4 separate regions of the Homo sapiens genome follow, and all the other regions are linked to region 3. The links are contacts of gene promoters, found by promoter capture Hi-C in blood cells and fetal thymus (Javierre and others, 2016). All regions are on one chromosome and are shown on one strand. The core of a region is centred on a gene start or on the middle of the fragment in contact, and the rest is flanking DNA. Distances in the headings are between cores, read along the strand shown. Region 1 overlaps GAPDHS (glyceraldehyde-3-phosphate dehydrogenase, spermatogenic). Region 2 overlaps ATP4A (ATPase H+/K+ transporting subunit alpha). Region 3 holds the start of KMT2B (lysine methyltransferase 2B). Region 4 holds the start of LRFN3 (leucine rich repeat and fibronectin type III domain containing 3).

What was found. Contacts are between HindIII fragments. The CHiCAGO score rates a contact against its expected background, and 5 or more counts as called.
Region 1: a fragment that was not itself captured here is called in contact with the fragment with the promoter of KMT2B in region 3 in 2 of 17 cell types (neutrophils and monocytes); the score reaches 7.5 in neutrophils.
Region 2: a contact is called between a fragment that was not itself captured here and the fragment with the promoter of KMT2B in region 3, in 10 of 17 cell types (neutrophils, megakaryocytes, monocytes and 7 more). The highest score is 12.6, in neutrophils.
Region 4: a contact is called between the fragment with the promoter of LRFN3 here and the fragment with the promoter of KMT2B in region 3, in 2 of 17 cell types (neutrophils and activated CD4 T cells). The highest score is 5.2, in neutrophils.

Annotation. Positions count from the first base shown.
Region 1 is chr19:35,536,090-35,541,437 of GRCh38, forward strand. GAPDHS (glyceraldehyde-3-phosphate dehydrogenase, spermatogenic) reads left to right here. Exons shown (of 11, transcript NM_014364.5): 2 at 724-901; 3 at 2,218-2,314; 4 at 2,488-2,594. It overlaps TMEM147-AS1 (TMEM147 antisense RNA 1), which reads right to left. Exons shown (of 4, transcript NR_038396.1): 4 at 4,649-5,348. Among named protein-coding and RNA genes, the nearest start is that of GAPDHS, 5.3 kb to the left of the region's middle. RefSeq lists an enhancer at 4,044-4,543. The HindIII fragment of the contact is 7,412 bases long and covers 1-5,348 here.
Region 2 is chr19:35,553,045-35,558,069 of GRCh38, forward strand. ATP4A (ATPase H+/K+ transporting subunit alpha) reads right to left here. Exons shown (of 22, transcript NM_000704.3): 11 at 4,611-4,803; 12 at 3,869-4,044; 13 at 2,632-2,768; 14 at 2,396-2,546; 15 at 2,122-2,290; 16 at 1,878-2,032; 17 at 662-785; 18 at 1-138. Among named protein-coding and RNA genes, the nearest start is that of ATP4A, 8.1 kb to the right of the region's middle. RefSeq lists an enhancer at 4,892-4,981. The HindIII fragment of the contact is 254 bases long and covers 3,013-3,266 here.
Region 3 is chr19:35,716,207-35,721,177 of GRCh38, forward strand. KMT2B (lysine methyltransferase 2B) reads left to right here and starts at 1,797. Exons shown (of 37, transcript NM_014727.3): 1 at 1,797-2,175; 2 at 3,263-3,335; 3 at 3,578-4,971. The coding sequence starts at 1,813. It overlaps ZBTB32 (zinc finger and BTB domain containing 32), which reads left to right. Exons shown (of 7, transcript NM_014383.3): 6 at 1-91; 7 at 272-832. The coding sequence ends at 546. RefSeq lists enhancers at 350-909, 462-741, 2,029-2,586 and silencers at 1,312-1,791, 1,872-1,921, 1,942-2,011, 2,052-2,131, 2,182-2,231. The HindIII fragment of the contact is 14,363 bases long and covers 1-4,971 here.
Region 4 is chr19:35,932,728-35,937,623 of GRCh38, forward strand. LRFN3 (leucine rich repeat and fibronectin type III domain containing 3) reads left to right here and starts at 3,647. Exons shown (of 3, transcript NM_024509.2): 1 at 3,647-4,828. The HindIII fragment of the contact is 21,793 bases long and covers 1-4,896 here.

The DNA of each region.
Region 1 (5,348 bases), core at 1,711-4,210, 180 kb before region 3:
AATTATTGGACAAATTCGGGGAACAATCTACAAAATACTAATGCATGTCAAACATTTCCTCGGCTTGGTCATAAGCAATCCATGTATTACCTCATTTAATCCTCACAACAACCCTCTAAGAAAAGTACTATTATCTCCCCTTACAGAGGAGGAAACTGAGGCACAGAGAATGTCACCCCAAGCGATCTATGTTGAAAGTACATACCCCGGCCAGGCGCAGTGGCTCACACCTGTAATCCCAGCACTTTGGGAGGCTGAGGCGGGTGGATCACCTAAGGTCAGGAGTTCGAGACCAGCCTGGCCAAGTGAAACCCTGTATCTACTAAAAATACAAAAATTAGCCAGGCACCTTGGCGGGTGCTTATAATCCCAGCTACTCGGGAGGCTGAGGCAGGAGAATCACTTGAACCCAGGAGGCGGAGGTTGCAGTAAGCCAAGATCAGTCCACTGCACTCCAGCCTGGGTGACAGAGCAATACTCTGTCTCGGGAAAAAAAAAACAACGGAAGTACATAACCAGTGAATTAGAATCTCCAGGAAAGAGCCCTTGGGATTGACATTTTAAACAAGTTCATTCTGTAGAGAAAGTGGGTTTGGGAAACACTGGGCTAAATGGTTGGTCACGAGGGGCCAGGAGCCAGCAACAGATTCTGGGCAGCAAAGACAGTTTGTTCTCTTTCACTTTGGTGGTCATGCAACCCATTCCCTCCCTTCCCCCGCATAGTGACCAGAGCACCGCCCCCACCTGAGCCTAAGGCTGAAGTAGAGCCCCAGCCACAACCAGAGCCCACACCAGTCAGGGAGGAAATAAAGCCACCACCGCCACCACTGCCTCCTCACCCCGCTACTCCTCCTCCTAAGATGGTGTCTGTGGCCCGGGAGCTGACTGTGGGCATCAATGGGTGAGTCTACTCCAGCCCCTGATCAGTCTGAAGCCTTAGAGCCCAGCCCCTCCTCTGGCTGCTAACTGGGGGCACCTCCACATTTCCCCCCATCAATGCTTTCGTTCCGACGACCCTGGAGAAATAGCCCGGAGCAAGGCAGACAGGGCCCCATGCTCAGCAGCATGCTGGTGGGGAAGACAGTAATCAAATAAAGAAATTAGATTGTTCAGTAGAGTGTGCTGGGAACAGTGTAGAATCCAGTGGAAAAGTCAGGCTGGAGAGGGCAGCCTTTGCCAGTGATCAGGGAAGGCCTTGGGGAGAAGGTGTCATTGGAGCGGGACCAGAGTGATGAGACACAGCCAGCTCCCAGGGCACCTTGCTGGGGAAGGAGTCTTCCAGGCAGCGGGACAAGCAATGATTCTGGGGCAGAGGCGAGCTCAGTATGTTCAGGGACAGCCAGGAAGTCAGAGTGGCTGGTGTCCACCAAGCAAAGGGAAAAGGAGGGAGGCCAGTGAGAAGCCCGGAGGGGGCTGCTACACCACAGTAAGGAGTGTGGATCTTGTTTTACTGATGGACAGTCGTGGATGTTTTCATGCCAAGAGACGTAATCTGTCTTGAAGTTTTAAGATCCATCCAGGCTCTCACACCTGTAAACCCAGCACTTTGGGAGGCCAAGGTAGGAGAATCCTTTGAGACCAGGAGTTTGAGACCAGCGTGGGCAACATAGCGAGACTCTGTCTCTACAGAAAAAAATTGTTTTAATTGTTTAATGAAAAAATAAAAGATCCATCCAGCTACAAGGTTAAGAATAGGGGTTAGGAGCCAGGCGCAGTGGCTCACGCCTGTAATCCCAGCACTTTGGGAGGCCAAGGCGGGTCTATCAACTTGAGGTCAGGAGTTCGAGACCAGCCTGGCCAACATGGCAAAACCCCGTCTCTATTAAAAATACAAAAATTAGCCAGGTGTGGTGGTACGCGCCTGTAGTCCCAGCTACTTGGGAGGCTGAGGCAGGAGAATCACTTGAACCCAGGAGGCAGAGGTTGCAATGAGCCCAGATAGCGCCACTGCACTCCAGCCTGGGCGAAAGAGCTGGATTCCATCTCAAAATATATATATATATATATGTATATATGGGTTAGGGAACGGATTGGGAGAGGGAGCTGAAAAAGCAGTTAAAGGGGCTGGTGAGGTCATCTTGGCAAGAGATGCCCATGGCCAGCACAGAGGTTGTTGCCTTCTTCCCCTGGATTAAGGATTCCCAACCAGGCTCCTTGAGGGAGCCTCCTCTCCATTACCCCCTTCTCTCCCATCCCTTCCTGTCTGTCCCTGGCCAGATTTGGACGCATCGGTCGCCTGGTCCTGCGCGCCTGCATGGAGAAGGGTGTTAAGGTGGTGGCTGTGAATGATCCATTCATTGACCCGGAATACATGGTCAGTAGCTGGCAGAGGGCAGGAACAGCAGGGTGGGACTGGGGTGGGAAAGGGACTCAGGGAAGCTGTATGGAAGGCTCTCAGCTGTAATGTGAGACCTTCACCAAAGAGGGGACTCTCTAGGGATCCTCACCCTGCCACCCCAAGACTAGGAGCCATTCCATCCCCCACAGGTGTACATGTTTAAGTATGACTCCACCCACGGCCGATACAAGGGAAGTGTGGAATTCAGGAATGGACAACTGGTCGTGGACAACCATGAGATCTCTGTCTACCAGTGGTAAGGAAAGCATCTGTCTGATGCACGGCTGTGACATATTGAGGCAGGGCATGTGGAGGTGGCTAAAATGGGATTCCAGCCTCTCACATGGGGTGCTGAAACCACCCCCAAAATTGCGTGTGCATGCCTCTAGGTACTAATTTGAAGAGGGAAGTCTCAGGTCCTTCACCCCTAAAATGATTAAGAAGCACTAATCTAAAAAGATGCCTCACTGTACTGAAGAATGCTTTTTCTTTATATTTTTTTTAGGGACGGGGTATCACTCTTTTGCCCAGTCTGGAGTGCAGTGGTGTAATCATAGCTCACCGCATCCTTGACCTCCCGGGCTCAAGTGGTCCTCCCACCTCGGCCTCCCAAGTAGTGGGCACCAGCCACCACACCTGGCAAATTTTTTGTAGAGATGAGGTCTTGCCATCTGGCCCAGGCTGGTCTCAAACTCCTGGCCCCAAGCAATCCTCCCACCTTGGCCTCCCAGAGTGCTGGGATTACAGGCAGGAGCCACTGCATTTTGCTTTAACGCACATTTGCATGTTTTCTCGTGGGCATATCAACATGTCCAGAACTCAACTCTTGATTCCCCTTCAACCCACACCTATTCAGCTCCCATTGACCACTGCTGGTCAACTATGCCTGAATTCCAAAGGGAGGAAGGTATAATGAGGCTTGTGCGAACATCCGAACATCCGTTCCCATCATGGCCTGAACCAGTGTTTCAGTTTTACTTTAGAATGCCCTGGGCCGAGAGAAGGGCTACATTCAGTTAGTTGGGGGAGTTTAGAATTTTATTTTTGGCTGACATTCACCTTTCTAATGTAAACTATTAGCGACTCCTGGCTCTGTGGCTGCCTGGGGCTTTTACACATACACACCCACAGGCCCACACACATGCAAATACACACAGGCACACTAGTGAACCCTGTCTGGGCCCAGGCAGGGTCTGCAGCCTCCCCAGCGCCCCTCCCCACAGATCTAATCTCAGCCCTTCTCCTTGTACTTACTGGGGGTAGGGTGAGTGATAAAGGGGCAGGGATGGGTGCAGGAAGTTTGTGGGCAGGGGGCAGAGACTGGAGAGTCAGTGAAAATTGAAGAAAGCTGCTTAACCCAAGTTTGAAATCATGACACTAGAAACAACTCCAGCACCATAGTTATCACGCAGACTTCAACGTGGCCACCACCATTACCGCCACTTGGAGTCATCCCTCTTCCCCACCTAGCTGCCCCCTCCGTCCACGGTCCCGACTCAGGTCTTGCCTTCTCTGGTCACTTGTGCAATGCAGTTCCCCGCCCCTCCAGCCCCCTCTCCATCCCCGCACTGTTGGGCTGCACAAGCCAGGCTGTGTGCCTGCACTCTGCCCTGCACCTCCGCTAGCTAGCTGGGTGACCTTGGGCAAGGAACCAAACTTGCCTGAGCCTCAGTTCCCCGCTGTATCTGATGGGGATGATGAGCAAACCCACCACAGCGGTAGCTGGGAGCACGAATGGAGTGAACATGTGTTTGTGGACACTTAAACGGGCACTTCCCACAAGGCCATGGCCTTGCACGGAGGGCTCTGTCAACTGGTACCACCACTGTTGCTCTGGCATTAGCAGGTACAGGCCCTGATAGCCATTCAGAACTTCCTTTGAATGAATGAATGGAATCCTCAAAACAGCCTGGTGGGCAGGAGGCTGGGGCCCATGACAGCCTTGGGGAGGGCCTGGGGTCTTCTGGGGGCACAGTCTTTGCCTCAGGCCAACTCAGCAATTGTTGCAGAGGAATCGCAAGTGTCCCTAATTTGGAAGGCAGGAAATGGGGGGTATCTGAGAAGAGCTCGTTGGGCCAGATGATGGAAAGTGGACTGACAGAGCAGGAGACAGGAAGAGGATAACCATGCATGTGTGATGGCTTTGCAGGGCAGCCCATTCATTCATTCATTCAGGCAGTGGAAACAGGAGTGCAGACCCGAGGTGGGACCAGCCACCTGCACTCCAGCAGGCTCTCCCTCTCACTCCCCTCCCCTCTGCCCTGACAGCAGTAAAAAAATGCAAAAAATGACAGCGGTAGCACTTCCTCATCGGGTTGTGAAGGTTACATGAGTTTAATGCAGGTAAGGCACTTAGAATATGGGCACAGGACAGGTGTTCAGTAAACACGTATAAAATGGCTAACTAAAAAAAAAACACGAGGCCAGGTGCAGAGGCTCATGCCTGTCATCCCAGCACTTTGGGAGGCTGAAGTGGGGATCACCTGAGGTCAGGAGTTTGAGACCAGCCTGGCCAACAGAGCAAACCCCGTCACCACTAAAAATACAAAAAACAACAACAATAAAAAACTAGCCAGGTGTGGTAGCGCATGCCTGTAACCCCAACTACTCGGGAGGCGGAGGCAGGAGAATCGCTTGAACCCGGAAGGTGGAGGTTGCAGTGAGCCAAAATCGTGCCACTGCACTCCAGCCTGAGTGACAGAGTGAGACTCTGTCTCAAAAACAAAACAAAACAAAACAAAGAAAACCCATGAGGCCAGGCACGGTGGCTCACACCTGTAATCCCAGCACTGTGGGAGGTCAAGGATCACTTGAGCCCAGGGGTTCTAAAGCACCCTGGGCAACAAAAGTGAGACCCCATCTCTACAAAAAAATTTAAAAATTAGCTTGGCATGGTGGTGTGCGCCTGTAGTCCCAGCTACTCGGGAGGCCAAGGCAGGAGGATGGCCGGAGCCAGGAAGATCAAGGCTGCAGTGAGCTCTGATTGCACCACTGCACTCCAGCCTGGGCG
Region 2 (5,025 bases), core at 1,890-4,389, 160 kb before region 3:
GGCCGTAGCTGTCCTGCAGATCTTGTAGGTGGTGGTCCTCCCACTGCGCCCGCAGCCCCACGCACAGCAGTGGGAACCAGCCCTCCTGGGCCATTGCCGTGAAGTAGTCAGTGAAGCCAGCAAAGGACTGAATGGCACCTGGAGAGAGACAAGGGGACACAGGGAGACAGAGATGGACACAGAGACAGGGACACAGGAAGAGAGGGACATGGAGAGACAGGGACACAGATACACAAAGGTCAAGGACACACAGACAGGGACACGGGAAGAGAGACAGGGACACAGATACACAAGGTCAAGGACACACAGAGCCAGGGACACAGAAACAGTGACAGAGACACAGAGGCAGAGAGAGAAGCAGGGACAGAGAGACAGAGGCAGGGACAGAGAGAAAAAGACACATCCAGGACCCAAAAAGACAGAAATAGGCAACAACTCAGAGACAGGGTCATGGAGAGCAAGGTCAGAGAGAGAGCAGGGACACAGCAGAACCAGAGAGACTGTCACAAACAGAGAGGGACACGGAGGACAACGGAGACCCAGGACCAAATGCAGACACTGAGGTCCAGAACCAGCCGGAGCCCAAGGCAGGGCCTGGGGCAGGCGAGCAGCCCAGCGCAGAGCCCCCCACCTCCAGGCTCCCCGGCCCACGGGCACCCACCAATCTGGAAGTAGGAGTAGGCAGCCAGGGGCTCGTTGACCAATCTGTCACGCTTTGGGTTGCGTGGACGCAGGTGCATGATGTCACTCTCGGCCTTTTCATATGCCAGGGACACAGATGGGAACTGGCCAGGAGTGGAAGGAACTGGGACTGAGGGTTTGGCTGGGCCCTTGTCCCCTCCACTTCGGGTCCCCCTTCCCCCACTTGTGAGCAGGAACAGGACTGAGGTTAGCAGGCAGGACCTGCAGGGACGGCACAGCCACACCAGCCTGGACAGCCTGGGCCCCACTGGCCCCTGGGTGTTGGCATCCTGGTGCCCATCTTCGTAAGAACATCTGCTTTTATCTTCTCCCTCTGTCTCCCTCCCTCTCTTTCTCTGTTCCTCACTCTGTTTCTCTGTCCCTGTCTCCAGTGTAATTCTCTGTGACTGTATCTGCTCTTGTGTATTTCTGTGTCACTCCCTATCTCTGTGTATCTTCAGTCTCTCAGTGTCGCCGTGCCCCTTCATCTGCTTGTGCCTAGAGTGGCAGCAGAGCATACTGACCACGACCACAGGCTGTGGGACCTGTGACTGCTCAAGCTCAAGTCACAGCCGGGCCACTTATTTGCCCAGTGACCTGGGACAATCCACTCTACCTGTCTATGCCTTGATGAGCTCATCAGTAAAGTACGGGTGATAGTAACAAAACTCATCTCATAGTGTGGTTATGAGTACAAAATTAAGGAAATGATGGTGTGTCTGGCCCAGAGAAAGCACTGTGTAAATGTTACCGAATAAATACCTGTCAACACAGCTGCGCCTCTGGCTGCATTCGTGACTGTATCTGTGGTTCTTTTCTGTCTGTCTGCCATGGGGTCTATCTGAGGGGGTTTATTTGTCCGTGTCTGTTTAGGGGCACGTGTCTGTGATTCAAGTTTGGCCAGATACCTGTTCTGTTTCCATCTCTGTCTGAGTATCTGTATCTGAGTCATGTGTGTGCATGGGTCGGCCCGGGCCTACCTGAGTGTCCGCCTGTGTGTGCATGGCTGTATGTCCATTTAGGTCTGTTCACCTGCCTGCCACCCATGTGTCCTGCACTGGCTGTCATTGCACACACAGGTCTTGTCTGTCACTCTGTGCCCAAGAGTGTCTGTGGTGGTCTCTGTCCCTCCTGTCCATCTGCAAGCAAGTGTCTCTGGGCACCCTGTGGATGGGTACCCTGGGCTGTGGACTTACAATGTCAGTGCAGAGTTCGATGAAGAGGATGGTGATGCACCCGAGGGGCAGGGGCACGCTGACGGTGATGTAGATGAGGTAGGGTGTCAGCTCTGGGATGTTCTTGGTCAATGTGTAGGCAATAGACTTCTTCAGGTTGTCGAAGATCAGTCGACCTGTGGGGTAGGGTGGGCACCTCAGCCTCCTCACAGCCCTCTCCCTCCTGTGCCCACACTGCCTGCCCTCCCCCTGGCGTGGCTCGGACCCTGCTCCACGCCTGTCACAATGGAGGCAAAGTTGTCATCCAGCAGGATCATGTCAGCTGCATTTTTGGCAGCATCTGAGCCAGCGATGCCCATGGCTACTCCGATGTCTGCCTTCTTCAGAGCTGGGGAGTCATTCACACCATCCCCCGTGACGGCCACAATCGCACCCTGCAGGCAGTGGGTGCAGGTGGTGGGTGGGTGGTCAGTGAGAGGCCGGTCCAAGACCAGCCCCGCCTGTCTGCCCGCCTGCCCACCCTCATCAGCAGGGCTCACCAGCCGCTGGCAGCTCTCCACGATCACCAGCTTCTGCTGGGGGCTGGTGCGCGCAAACACCATCTCGGGGTGGGTGCGCAGGGCCTCGACCAGTTCCGATGGGTCCATGTCCTTCAGCTGCATGCCATTGATCACACAGGCACGGGCATCCCTGGGGAGGAGATGGGAGGACCTCGCTGGGACCTCGGTCTGTGCCAGATGTGGGGAGAACCCCGGGGAGGTCTGGGGGGGCTTACTTGCGATTAACCTGGTCTACGGGCACACGGAGGCGGGCAGCGATGTCCTCCACTGTCTCGCTGCCTTCCGAGATGATGCCCACACTGGCTGCAATGGCCTTGGCGGTGATGGGGTGGTCACCCGTTACCATGATCACCTGTAGGGGGAACCAGTGGATCACTGACCCCTTCAGATCAGCCCAATCTCCCTGTCCTCCCTGGGAGACATCTGCTGATACACGTGTTCATTTACTTGACCAAGCGTGACCACCTCCTACGTGCCTGGGATATAGCAGAGACAAAAGAGACAAAAATCCCTGTCCTTGAGGAGCTCTAGTGAGGGTGACAGAAAATAAAGAAACGAATTATATAGTGTGTTAGAAAGTGGAAAAAAACATATTAAGCTTGGTGAAGGAAACGGTGACTCGATTTTAAGTGTACCCAGGGAAGGGCTTATTGAGAAGGTGATATCTGAGCAGAGACCTGTAAGAGGTGAGAGAGTCAGCCACGTGGAAAGCTGGGAGAAGAGTGCTCCTGGCAGGGAGAACAGCAGGTGCAAAGGCCCTGAGGTGAGGACAGGCCCGAACTGTCGGAGGAACAGCAGGGAGGACACCATAACTGCAGAGGAGTGAACAAGGAAAGAGGGCTAACGAACAAGCTTAGAAAGGTAACAAGGCCCGATGTAACAGGGCCGTAGAGACACGGGAAGGGCTTGGGCATTGCCTGCCTGGCCTTGGCTTTCCCACCCTTGTTTTGTGTTTGGGGAACCACTCCTCTCCCCTACACCATCAGTTGCAGTGAGGTCCCTGGCTAAGATTGGGTAAGTAAGCCCAGACCTGGCCAATCAAGGTCTTCCATCCCCCAGCCCCAGTGACTGGCTCAGGGATAAATGAGTGACCCAATCCAGTGCTACTGCAAAAGAGGCACTCTCTTTTTGTGGGGTGGCTAAGCAGGTGGGAGTTAAGTTTGAGCTGCTGGAGCAGGGGTGTGTGTGTCCCCAAGTGAAGGGAGTGCCTGCAAATAAAGCCAGCAAAGAGAACAGCAGAGCTGAGACATGGAGAAAGGAAAATTCCTAATGACACTGAGCTCCTGGATCTGGCTAGACCTGAAGCTTAATTCCCCAGAATTTTTCAGTATCATAAACCAATGCATTTTGGTTCAAGCCAGTTTCAGGTGGGTTTGTCATGGGGTTCTTCAACCCAAATCCTGCTGCCATCCTCTGTCCTCACTCCACTTGTTCCTCCCCACAGTGGCATACCCGGATGCCTGCGGTGCGACACTTGAGCACAGCATCAGGGACGGTGGCCCGGGGTGGGTCAATCATGGATACAAGTCCCGCAAAGCAGAGGCCGCTAGATGGAAAGTTCATGGCCTCTACGTCGAAGGCATAGCCAGGCGGGTAGTCCTTCTCATTCAGGTAGAGCTGGCAGAAGCCTGACCGGAAACGGGGAAGTCAGGGAAGAGCCCTGGGCACACCCTTTCTTAGCAGGGCCAGGAAATGGGTAAAATAACCAGGCCCCTTGCACCAAACACCTATGGATGCCTGACCTTGTGCTGACCCCTTCACTCACATTATCTGAATCTACCCTCACAACCACCCTGTGAGGCCCATTCTCATCTTACAGATGAGGAAACTGAGGCTCAGAGAGGGGACATTTCTTGCCAGAGGTCACACAGCAAGTAAAAGGCCCAGAATTGGACCACAGATCTGCTTTCTAGGGTAGAGGCAGCGAAGTTTAAGGCGTCAGGACAAAAATTGGGAGAGGTTAGAGGTCAGGATACGGATAAAAGTCCAGGTGAGGACTGGGGTCAAGGTAGAAAGTGAGGACAGACAGGGGTCAGGACTGGTACAGGGAAAGTCAAGGGTGAGGCTGTGGACTGCGACAAATCAGCCAGCAGCCAGGGATGAGGACGGTCAGGGCTGGGCCGGGAGTGGTGGGCAGGGTCTGTGCTAGCTCCTCCTCGCACCTGGAGTCTCCTCCCCTGCCCAGGGGTCTCACCGAGCACGCGTTCGCCCAGGCCTCCCAGGCTGAGGTAGGCGGTCTGGAAGGCCTCGCGCCACTGCTCGTCCAGCGGCAGCTCCTGGCCCTTGATAAGGATGGAGCTGCAGCGCTCCAGCACGCGCTCGGGGGCGCCCTTCATCACCAGCAAGTGTCGCGGGTCCCGCGGGTCCTCCAGCGTATGGATGGACAGCTGTGGGCGGGGGGGAGAGGCGAGGCTGTGGACGGGGGAACGGGGCGGGGCTGTGGACGAGGGAACGGGGCGGGGCTGAGGAGAGGGGCGGGGCCGAGAGCTCGGTGCGGGCTCTGAGAGCTGCGGGGAAGGGTGAAGGTGGAAGATGGAGGCCTTGTGTGGAGGGGTCCTTGGTAGAAGGTAAGCGTTAAGGCGGGGCTAGGTGCAGATTTGGAGTCCTGG
Region 3 (4,971 bases), core at 547-3,046:
CCTGCTCGGTCTCGGCCCTATGCGTGCTCTGTCTGTGGAAAGAGGTTTTCACTCAAGCATCAGATGGAGACGCACTACCGAGTCCACACAGGTATGGGCGCCCTGCCCTGTGTGAACTGTCGGCTTTCTTCCCAACTCCGCTCCTGAGTCTCCACCTGTGTGCCCGGTTCCCGCGCAATCCCCTAGCCCCGTGGCCCGATCCACCCCTAACTTGGCCAGCTTTCGCCGCCTTCTTCCTTCCTTCACCGGCCTCCCCTTCCGACCGCTCTAGGAGAGAAGCCCTTCTCCTGTAGCCTTTGTCCTCAGCGCTCCCGGGACTTCTCGGCCATGACCAAGCACCTGCGGACACACGGGGCCGCTCCGTACCGCTGCTCCCTGTGCGGGGCCGGCTGTCCCAGCCTGGCCTCCATGCAGGCGCACATGCGCGGTCACTCGCCCAGCCAACTCCCGCCCGGATGGACCATCCGCTCCACCTTCCTCTACTCCTCCTCGAGGCCGTCTCGGCCCTCGACCTCTCCCTGTTGTCCTTCTTCCTCCACCACCTGACGGGGTGTCGGTAGCGTCTTAGCCAAGAGTCCAATTAAAGAACGAAAAGCGGGCCGGCTCGGCTTCTGACCTGGCACCGCTGCTACGGCGGCCTAGCAAATTCCGCCCCAGAAGCGCCCCAGGAAGGGCGCCGAGTGCCCTCTCCTGGACGATCGCGGGTCGCAGAAGCCCAGGCCAGCGAGCCCTACAGAGTGAGGACACTGAAGTGTGCAGGAGCGAAGGTTAACAGTAGGGGAGATTGTCGATCTCATCACCATAATAAAGAGTTTCCTGTGCCCTCCCTTCAGGACTAGAAAGCCGAGTTTAGTCTGTGCACACCCCCGCCCACGCCCCTTGTCCTGTAGCGGCCCCTGGTGGCCCTGCGTCCGCTGTCCAGCGGGATGGACACTTCTTCCACCCCCGAGGCGCCCCGTCCTCCCCAGGAGGCAGCCGGCCCCGAGGACTCGGTGTCCGGGCACACCTTGCGGCATGCCGGTCCTGGACTGGTGGGGGCTGTGCGACCGCAAGTCACTCGCCCCTTCCACTGCAATCCACGGCGCGCGGAGTCTGATCTGGGAACGCTCGGCCCGGGAGAGAGAGGAACGCGTGCTCCGACCCTGCTTTCGGCCACCCGCCTCCTCTCCGGGAGCACACGGACCCCGAGACCGCGGCCTCTCCGGCGTCTTCCCTCCACACCGTGCCAAGCCGCCGCCAGGTCGCGCCTGGAACGGAGACTGACTATGCTTTCCACCGCTCCTTCTCCAGCCCACGCCTCCTGCAGCCGCGAACTGCATTTCCCAGGGCCTCGGGGGTCCCGGGGCCCGAGCCCGCGGCACCCTGGGAGTGGTAGTCCACGCGGGCCGCCGGCCTAGCCAAGAACAATGGGAGGAGCCTGGGGCTAGGACCACACCTCCCGGAGACCCGGCAACCCGCTTTCCGGGTCCTGGCCGGGAACCCCGCCGTCCCGGCCCTCGCGCCCTGGCTGCCGGCGGAAGAAGCGAGGCGTCCGGACTACATTTCCCGGAGGCCCCCGCGGTTCGCCCCTCTGCGGCCGCGACGCGGGGGTCTGTGCTCCCCAGGTGCGGTCCGAGGGCGCCGGCCGGCCGCGGACTCCCTCTCCCGTGGTGCCCTGCGCGTGGCCGGCCCGGCCCCCGGTCTCCCGCGGCGGCGCTGGTTGTTGTCGTGCGCCGCGGCCGCCCCGCCCCGCCCCCGCTCTCTCCCCTCCCCCCGGCCCTGCGCACGGGCCGCCCCTCCCCCCGCCTCCCCGGCCCCTCTCACGGTGCCAAGATGGCGGCGGCGGCGGGCGGCGGCAGTTGCCCCGGGCCTGGCTCCGCGCGGGGCCGCTTCCCGGGCCGGCCGCGGGGCGCCGGCGGGGGCGGGGGCCGCGGCGGACGGGGCAACGGGGCCGAAAGAGTGCGGGTAGCTCTGCGGCGCGGCGGTGGCGCGACGGGGCCGGGCGGAGCCGAGCCCGGGGAGGACACGGCCCTGCTCCGTTTGCTGGGGCTCCGCCGGGGCCTGCGCCGGCTCCGCCGCCTGTGGGCCGGCCCGCGGGTCCAGCGGGGCCGGGGACGGGGTCGGGGCCGGGGCTGGGGCCCGAGTCGAGGCTGCGTGCCGGAGGAGGAGAGCAGTGACGGGGAATCCGACGAGGAGGTGAGGCGGTTGGAGGCGTCCCCGGCGCCGGGTGGGGCGGAGGCCGGGGCTTCCAGGGGTCTGGGTTGTCCCGGGGGCGGCGTGGGCAGGCCGGGTCCTCAGGGTTCCTTCGGAGAGACGGGGCACGGAGGGAGGGCGGCTGCATGCAGCTTCCGGGGGAAAGGGCCTCTGGAAGTGGGTAGAGAAGCCCCGGCTGCAGCCAGGCACTCGCGCCCGATGTCGGTCCCGCTGAAGTGTCTTGGGCCGATCCTTTTCGGCAGCTGGCAAAGCTAGGGCGGTGGAGGTTTGGGCGAGGAGGCAGTGGGGACTGCATGTCCAGCCAGTCGTGGTTGACAGCGGCAGCGTGGCCTTGGCAGACAGGTTGGAGCTGTCTGGGCTCTTACCTGTGGGCCGCCCCGCCGGGCCTCGCAACCTCCTGGTTTCTCCAGGGCCCCAGTTTCTCTTGGCATCTCAGGTAGAGTGGTGGAGGGCTTCCTCTTGGGGCTCGGGTTGAACAGGAGTGGGATGAAGGCCGGGACTGGGCACTCTAGCAGGTCAGAGCTCAGCTCAGGATTTCTCCCCCAGCCTTTCAGAACAGGCAGGAAGGTGTGGGTTGCGTTGCCCTGGACGGTTAATAACAACCTGAGAGCTCGCAGTGGAGCCTGTACGAAAGCCATCTGATGCCCTCCCCGCCCCTTCACTTGCGGGCCCCTGTTCCCAACTTAATGCAGAAATAAATTGTGGCCCGAAAGGGTGTCAGTGGAGGTCCCACTTTGGTCTGAATTGGACTCTGAAGGAATCTGAGTATGGGGCCTGCTGCCTTTCCTGAGGAGACCCTGTCGTCTTCTCTCTTGGGCCAGTGAACCATGGCTTTGGCTGTGCTGGTGTGGTCCGGCACTGGGGATCGGAGTTCGAAATACCTGGCGCCTCCATCCCTAGGGAGAGACCCTCTCTTCCACTACCCGCGACCTTTGAGTCTTTTTCGTTCTTTTTAAATAGGCAGGGGTATGCTAAGTGGGAACTGGGGATATTCCTCGATACCTCAGATGGAACGAGGGCTTTGGCACTGACTGCTGTTTCTCCCCTCCACCCCGGTCCCCTAAATCAGGAGTTTCAGGGTTTTCATTCAGATGAAGATGTGGCCCCCAGTTCCCTGCGCTCTGCGCTCCGATCCCAGCGAGGTGAGTGACGGGGGAACTCCACCTCTTTAGCGTCACAGGAATTTATCCTCGCCCTTCGTGTCAGCTCTTCCCTGTTCAACTAGCCTCTGTCAGTTGCCGAATGTGTTCTGTGTTCAGAGTCCAAGCTAGTCTGGGCAGCGGGGGAAACACACAAGCAAGACTTAGTCCCTGCCCTCCTGGAGCGCCTTCCTCTGTGTGTAGGGCTGGCTTGATCCATCTCCCCACAACTATTCTCCTTTTAGGTCGAGCGCCCCGAGGTCGGGGTCGCAAGCATAAGACGACCCCCCTTCCTCCTCCTCGCCTAGCAGATGTGGCTCCTACCCCCCCAAAGACCCCTGCCCGGAAACGGGGTGAGGAAGGCACAGAACGGATGGTGCAGGCACTGACTGAACTTCTCCGGCGGGCCCAGGCACCCCAAGCACCCCGGAGCCGGGCATGTGAGCCCTCCACCCCCCGGCGGTCTCGGGGACGGCCCCCAGGACGGCCAGCAGGCCCCTGCAGGAGGAAGCAGCAAGCAGTAGTGGTGGCAGAAGCAGCTGTGACAATCCCCAAACCTGAGCCCCCACCTCCTGTGGTTCCAGTGAAACATCAGACTGGCAGCTGGAAATGCAAGGAGGGGCCCGGTCCAGGACCTGGGACCCCCAGGCGTGGAGGACAGTCAAGCCGTGGAGGCCGTGGAGGCAGGGGCCGCGGCCGAGGTGGTGGGCTCCCCTTTGTGATCAAGTTTGTTTCAAGGGCCAAAAAAGTAAAGATGGGACAATTGTCCTTGGGACTCGAATCAGGTCAAGGTCAAGGTCAACATGAGGAAAGTTGGCAGGATGTCCCCCAAAGAAGAGTTGGATCTGGACAGGGAGGGAGCCCTTGCTGGAAAAAGCAGGAACAGAAGCTGGATGACGAGGAAGAAGAGAAGAAAGAAGAAGAAGAAAAAGACAAGGAGGGAGAAGAGAAGGAAGAAAGAGCTGTAGCTGAGGAGATGATGCCAGCTGCGGAAAAGGAAGAGGCAAAGCTGCCACCACCGCCTCTGACTCCTCCAGCCCCTTCACCTCCTCCACCCCTCCCACCCCCTTCGACATCTCCTCCACCCCCACTCTGCCCTCCACCACCACCCCCAGTGTCCCCACCACCTCTACCATCCCCTCCACCGCCTCCTGCCCAAGAGGAGCAGGAGGAATCCCCTCCTCCTGTGGTCCCAGCTACGTGCTCCAGGAAGAGGGGCCGGCCTCCCCTGACTCCCAGCCAGCGGGCGGAGCGGGAAGCTGCTCGGGCAGGGCCAGAGGGCACCTCTCCTCCCACTCCAACCCCCAGCACCGCCACGGGAGGCCCTCCGGAAGACAGTCCCACCGTGGCCCCCAAAAGCACCACCTTCCTGAAGAATATCCGGCAGTTTATTATGCCTGTGGTGAGTGCCCGCTCCTCCCGTGTCATCAAGACACCCCGGCGATTTATGGATGAAGACCCCCCCAAACCCCCAAAGGTGGAGGTCTCACCTGTCCTGCGACCTCCCATTACCACCTCCCCACCTGTTCCCCAGGAGCCAGCACCAGTCCCCTCTCCACCACGTGCCCCAACTCCTCCATCTACCCCAGTTCCACTCCCTGAGAAGAGACGGTCCATCCTAAGGGAACCCACATTTCGC
Region 4 (4,896 bases), core at 2,397-4,896, 220 kb after region 3:
TGCTTGGGTCTGGGAGTTTGAGACCAACCTGGGCAACATAGCGAGACCCCGTGTCTCCATGAAAAATAAAACAATTAGCCTGGCATGGTGGCATGCTCCTGTAGTCCCAGCTACTTGAGAGGCTGAGGTGGGAGGATCCCTTCAGCCCAGGAGTTTGAGGCTGCAGGGAGCTATGATCATGCCACTGCATGGCAGCCTCAGCGACAAAGCAAGACCATTTCTCTTAAAGAAAAAAAAAAAAGGGCGGGCACAGTGGTTCATGCCTGTAATCCCAGCACTGTAATCCCAGGTTGAGGTGGGCGGATCAACTGAGGTCAGGAGTTCGAGACCAGTCTGGCCAACATGGTGAAAACCCATCTGTACTAAAAATTTTTTTAAAAATGGCCAGGCACAGTGGCTCACGCCTGTAATCCCAGCACTTTGGGAGGCTGGGGTGGGTGGATCATCTGAGGTCAGGAGTTTGAGACCAGCCTGGCCTACATGGTGAAACCCCATCTCTACTAAAAATACAAAAATTAGCAGGGCATGGTGGCACGTGCCTGTAATCCCAGCTACTCGGGAGGCTGAGGCAGAAGAATCGCTTGAATCCGGGTGGCGGAGGTTGTAGTGAGCCAAGATCATGCCACTGCACTCCAGCCTGGGTGACAGAGCGAGACTCCGTCTCAAAATAAAAATCAGCCAAGCGTGGTGGTGCATGCCTGTAATCCCAGCTACTCAGGAGGCTGAGGCAGGAGAATAGCTTGAACCCAAGAGGTGGAGGTTGCAGTGAGCCGAGATCATGCCACTGCACTCCAGCCTGGGCGACAGAGCAGGACTCTGTCTTTAAAAAAAAAAGAGATGGGGGCTGGGCGCAGTGGCTCACACCTGTAATCCCAGCACTTTGGGAGGCCGAGGTGGGGGTATCACCTGAGGTCAGGAGTTCAAGACCAGCCTTGCCAACATGGTGAAACCCCATCTCTACTAAAAATACAAAAATTAGCCGGGCATGGTGGCACATGCCTGTAATCCCAGCTACTCGGGAGGCTGAGGCAGAAGAATCGCTTGAATCCGGGCGGCGGAGGTTGTAGTGAGCAAAGATCACGCCACTGCACTCCAGCCTGGGTGACAGAGTGAGACTCCGTCTCAAAATAAAAATCAGCCAAGCGTGGTGGTGCATGCCTGTAATCCCAGCTACTCGGGAGGCTGAGGCAGGAGAATAGCTTGAACCCAGGAGGTGGAGATTGCAGTGAGCCGAGATCATGCCACTGCACTCCAGCCTGGGCGACAGAGCAGGACTCTGTCTTAAAAAAAAAGAGATGGGGGCTGGGCGCAGTGGCTCACACCTGTAATCCCAGCACTTTGGGAGGCCGAGGTGGGGGGTATCACCTGAGGTCAGGAGTTCAAGACCAGCCTTGCCAACATGGCGAAACCCCATCTCTACTAAAAATACAAAAATTAGCTAGGCATGGTGGTAGGTGCCTGTTATCCCAGCTACTTGGGAGGCTGAGGCAGGAGAATCACTTGAACCAAGGAGGCAGAGGTTGCAGTGAGCCAAGATTATGCCACTGCACTACAACCTGGGCAACAAAGTAAGACTCTGTCTAAAAAAATAAATAAATAAATAGGCCGGACACTGTGGCTCACGCCTGTAATCCCAGCACTTTAGGAGGCCGAGGCGGGCAGATCACGAGGTCAGGAGATCAAGACCATCCTGGCTAACATGGTGAAACCCTGTCTCTAATAAAAATACCAAAAAAATTAGCTGGGCATGGTGGCAGACGCCTCTAGTCCCAGCTACTCGGGAGGCTGAGGCAGGAGAATGGCGTGAACCCGGGAGGTGGAGCTTGCGGTGAGCCAAGATCACACCACTGCACTCCAGCCTGGGCAACAGAGCTAGACTCTGTCTCAAAAATAAATAAATAAATAAAATAATAATAAAATGGGGTTATTTGTTTTTTGCTTGTTGCATTGTTTAAGTCCCTTATAGACTGAATTCCTCTTTATGTCTCTAAATACATTTGTCTCTTTGGTACACATCTGCGGTGCTACATGCCCTCAACCCACCAGGTTTTAGCATAGCTGTTGTGGTAGACAGTTCCGTGTGCAGTGCAGATAGCCCTGGTTCAGCCCAGCTGTTCTCAAAATGTGGTCCCTGACCAGGTGTAGTGGCTCACACCTGTAATCACAACACTTTGGGAGGCCTGGGAGGGAGGATTGCCTGAGGCCAAGAGTTCAAGACCAGCCTGGGCAGCATATTGAGACCCTGTCTCTACAAGAAATTTTAAAAATTAGCTGGATATGGCGATGCATGCCTGTAGTCTCAGTTACTCTGGAGCCTGAGGTGGGAGGATTGCTTGAGCCCAGGAATTTGAGGTTGCAGTCAATTATGATTGCACCAATGTACTGGGTGACAAAGCAAGACCCTGTCTCAAAAAAAAAAGTATGGTCTTTGAAAAGTCACATTAGCATCACCTGGGTACTCGTTAAAAATGCAAATGTTTGGGTCCCACCTCAGACCCACTGAACCAGAAACTCTGAGGTTGGGACCTGGAGATCTATGGTGCCCCCGGGTGATCCTGGTGGGCTGCACTGCAAGGACACCTGGCCTGGCTCCTGCAAGGCAAGGCATCCCTCTCTGCTTTTCTTTCTTTCTTTCTTTCTTTTAAAGACAGAGTCTCACTCTGTCACCCAGGCTGGAGTGCAATGGCTGGATCTCAGATCACTACAATCTCCACCTCCCGGGTTCAAGCAATTCTCTTGCCTCAGCCTCCCGAGTAGCTGGGATTACGGGCGTCCGCCACCACACCCGGCTAATTTTTGTATTTTTAGTAGAGACGGGGTTTCTCCATGTTGGCCAGGCTGGTCTCCAACGCCTGATCTCAAAAGATCCGCCCGCCTTGGCCTCCCAACGAGCCGGGATTACAGGCGTGAGCCACCGCCCCCGGCTGTCAGTGTGTCTTGAGGTCTTTCCCTAATCCCAGATGGCACAAGTTTTCCCTCTTGCAGGCAGAGAAAGGAGCCTTGGGAAGGAGCCCCTCTGGCCTGAAAGATCAAGCCTATTGCTGGGCATGGCCAGGTAAGGAAACTCCAACCGTGGAAAGGACATTCCAGGGAGGTGGTGCTGAGATAAGGGGGGCAGAAAGAGACAGGTTTGGGGGGCCAGTGGCTCTGGAATGAAGCGCTACACTCAAGGCTAGGAATAGTTACTGAATGCACATACACACATACCATTCTCACAGCCCAGGTGCTGCGTCTTAGAGCGTGTGAGTGTGTATGTGTGTGTCTGTGTGTGCGCGCGCACGCACGTCTCTATCTCTGTTTCTGTCTTTCTCTGACTTGTCCTTATCTCTTGTCTCTCCATCACTCTCTGTGTCTCGCTGTCTCTGTGCATTTCCATGTCTCGAATATGTGTGTGTTTCAATCTGTCTCTCTGCCTCTTTCCATTTTCTCCTCTCTATCCATCAATCTAAGCCTGCCCATCTTTTTGTCTGCCTTTCTGTATCTCCGTTCTTCTCTGTCTCTCTGTCTCAGTCTCTCTGTATCCAGGGATTCTCTTTCCCAGCAGCGCCAGTGCGACTCCATGGGAGGTGGGGCCGGGGCGCGTCTTTGAGAGAAGGGGCGGGTGCCTACGCCTTTAAGCGCGGGTGCGCGCGGAGCCTGCGCCTTTAAGCGCCGGTGCGCGCGCTGCCCTGGGTTGCCGGCGAGGAGGCCGCGGGAGCGCCTGGACCCGGCCCGCCCAGCCCGGCCCCCGCCCGGCCCCCGCCTCGGCCCCGGCGGGGGAGGGGTCTCTGAGCGCGGCCCCTCCCCCCTGCGCCCCCGCCTGCGCTGCGGTGCCCCCATCCCGCGTGTCCCAGTCTGTCTGACCGTCCCTCCGCTCCCAGGCCTCGCCCCACCCGGCCCTGGGGCTGCCCGGTCGCCCCCCTCCCCACCGCAGCCGGTCCCCTCCCTCCCAGTCAGCCTCCGCCGCAGCCCAGGAAGCCAGCCGGGACGCCGCCGCCCCGGACCCCGCGCCCTAACCTCCACCTCGGGGGCCTGCACCCCCAGATTGAATCGGGAATTCCGGAAACCCGAGCCTGGAACCCTGATCTGGGACCAGCACCCCGAGATCCGGCCGTGGAACCCCAAGATCTGGAGCCTGAACCCCAGTATATGGGGCTGGAATCTCAACATCGGTCACTGGGACCTCAATATTTGGAGCCGGAACCCCACAATTTGGAACACAGACCCCAATATTTGGAGCAGAACCCCAAGATTTGACATCTAAAACCTCAAGCCTGGAGCTGAACTCTGAATTCTGGGCCTGGGACCTTGAAATCTGGGACTGGATTTCCAGTACTGTACCCTGGAACCCACTCTTGGGGACCTGAACCCTGGGATTCAGGCCTCAAATTCCAAGATCTGGACTGTGGGATTCCAAGGGGCCTGAACCCGAGTTTGGGCCTGAAGTCCTTGCTGCAGACCTGAGTGCTTAAATCTGGGGCTTGAGACCTCCCAATCTTGACTCAGCACCCCAATATCTGAATGCAGAACCCCGGGATCGGATCTCAGACTCTAAACCCCACCGTTTGGCTGCTTAGCATCCCAAGACTGGACCTGGGAGACCCTGACCCTGAACAACCCAAACTGGACCCGTAAAACTGGACCCTAGAGGCCCAATATTTAGGGGTCTGGAACCCCGAGTATTAAGGTCTGGAGACTCCGTTGCCACAGATTTGAGCCGAGTCAGGACACAGTCCCTCTACAGAAGCCTTGGGGACAGGAAAAGCATGACCAGATGCTCCCTCCAGAGCCCTGACCTCTGACTCCCCTGGAGCTAGGACTCTGCTCCCTGGGGCTGCTTCTAGCTCAGGTAAGGCTGCTGAAACCTCAAGGTGGGGACGGGCTGGGAGGAGCATTGTGGCTGCGGGTTACGGTACC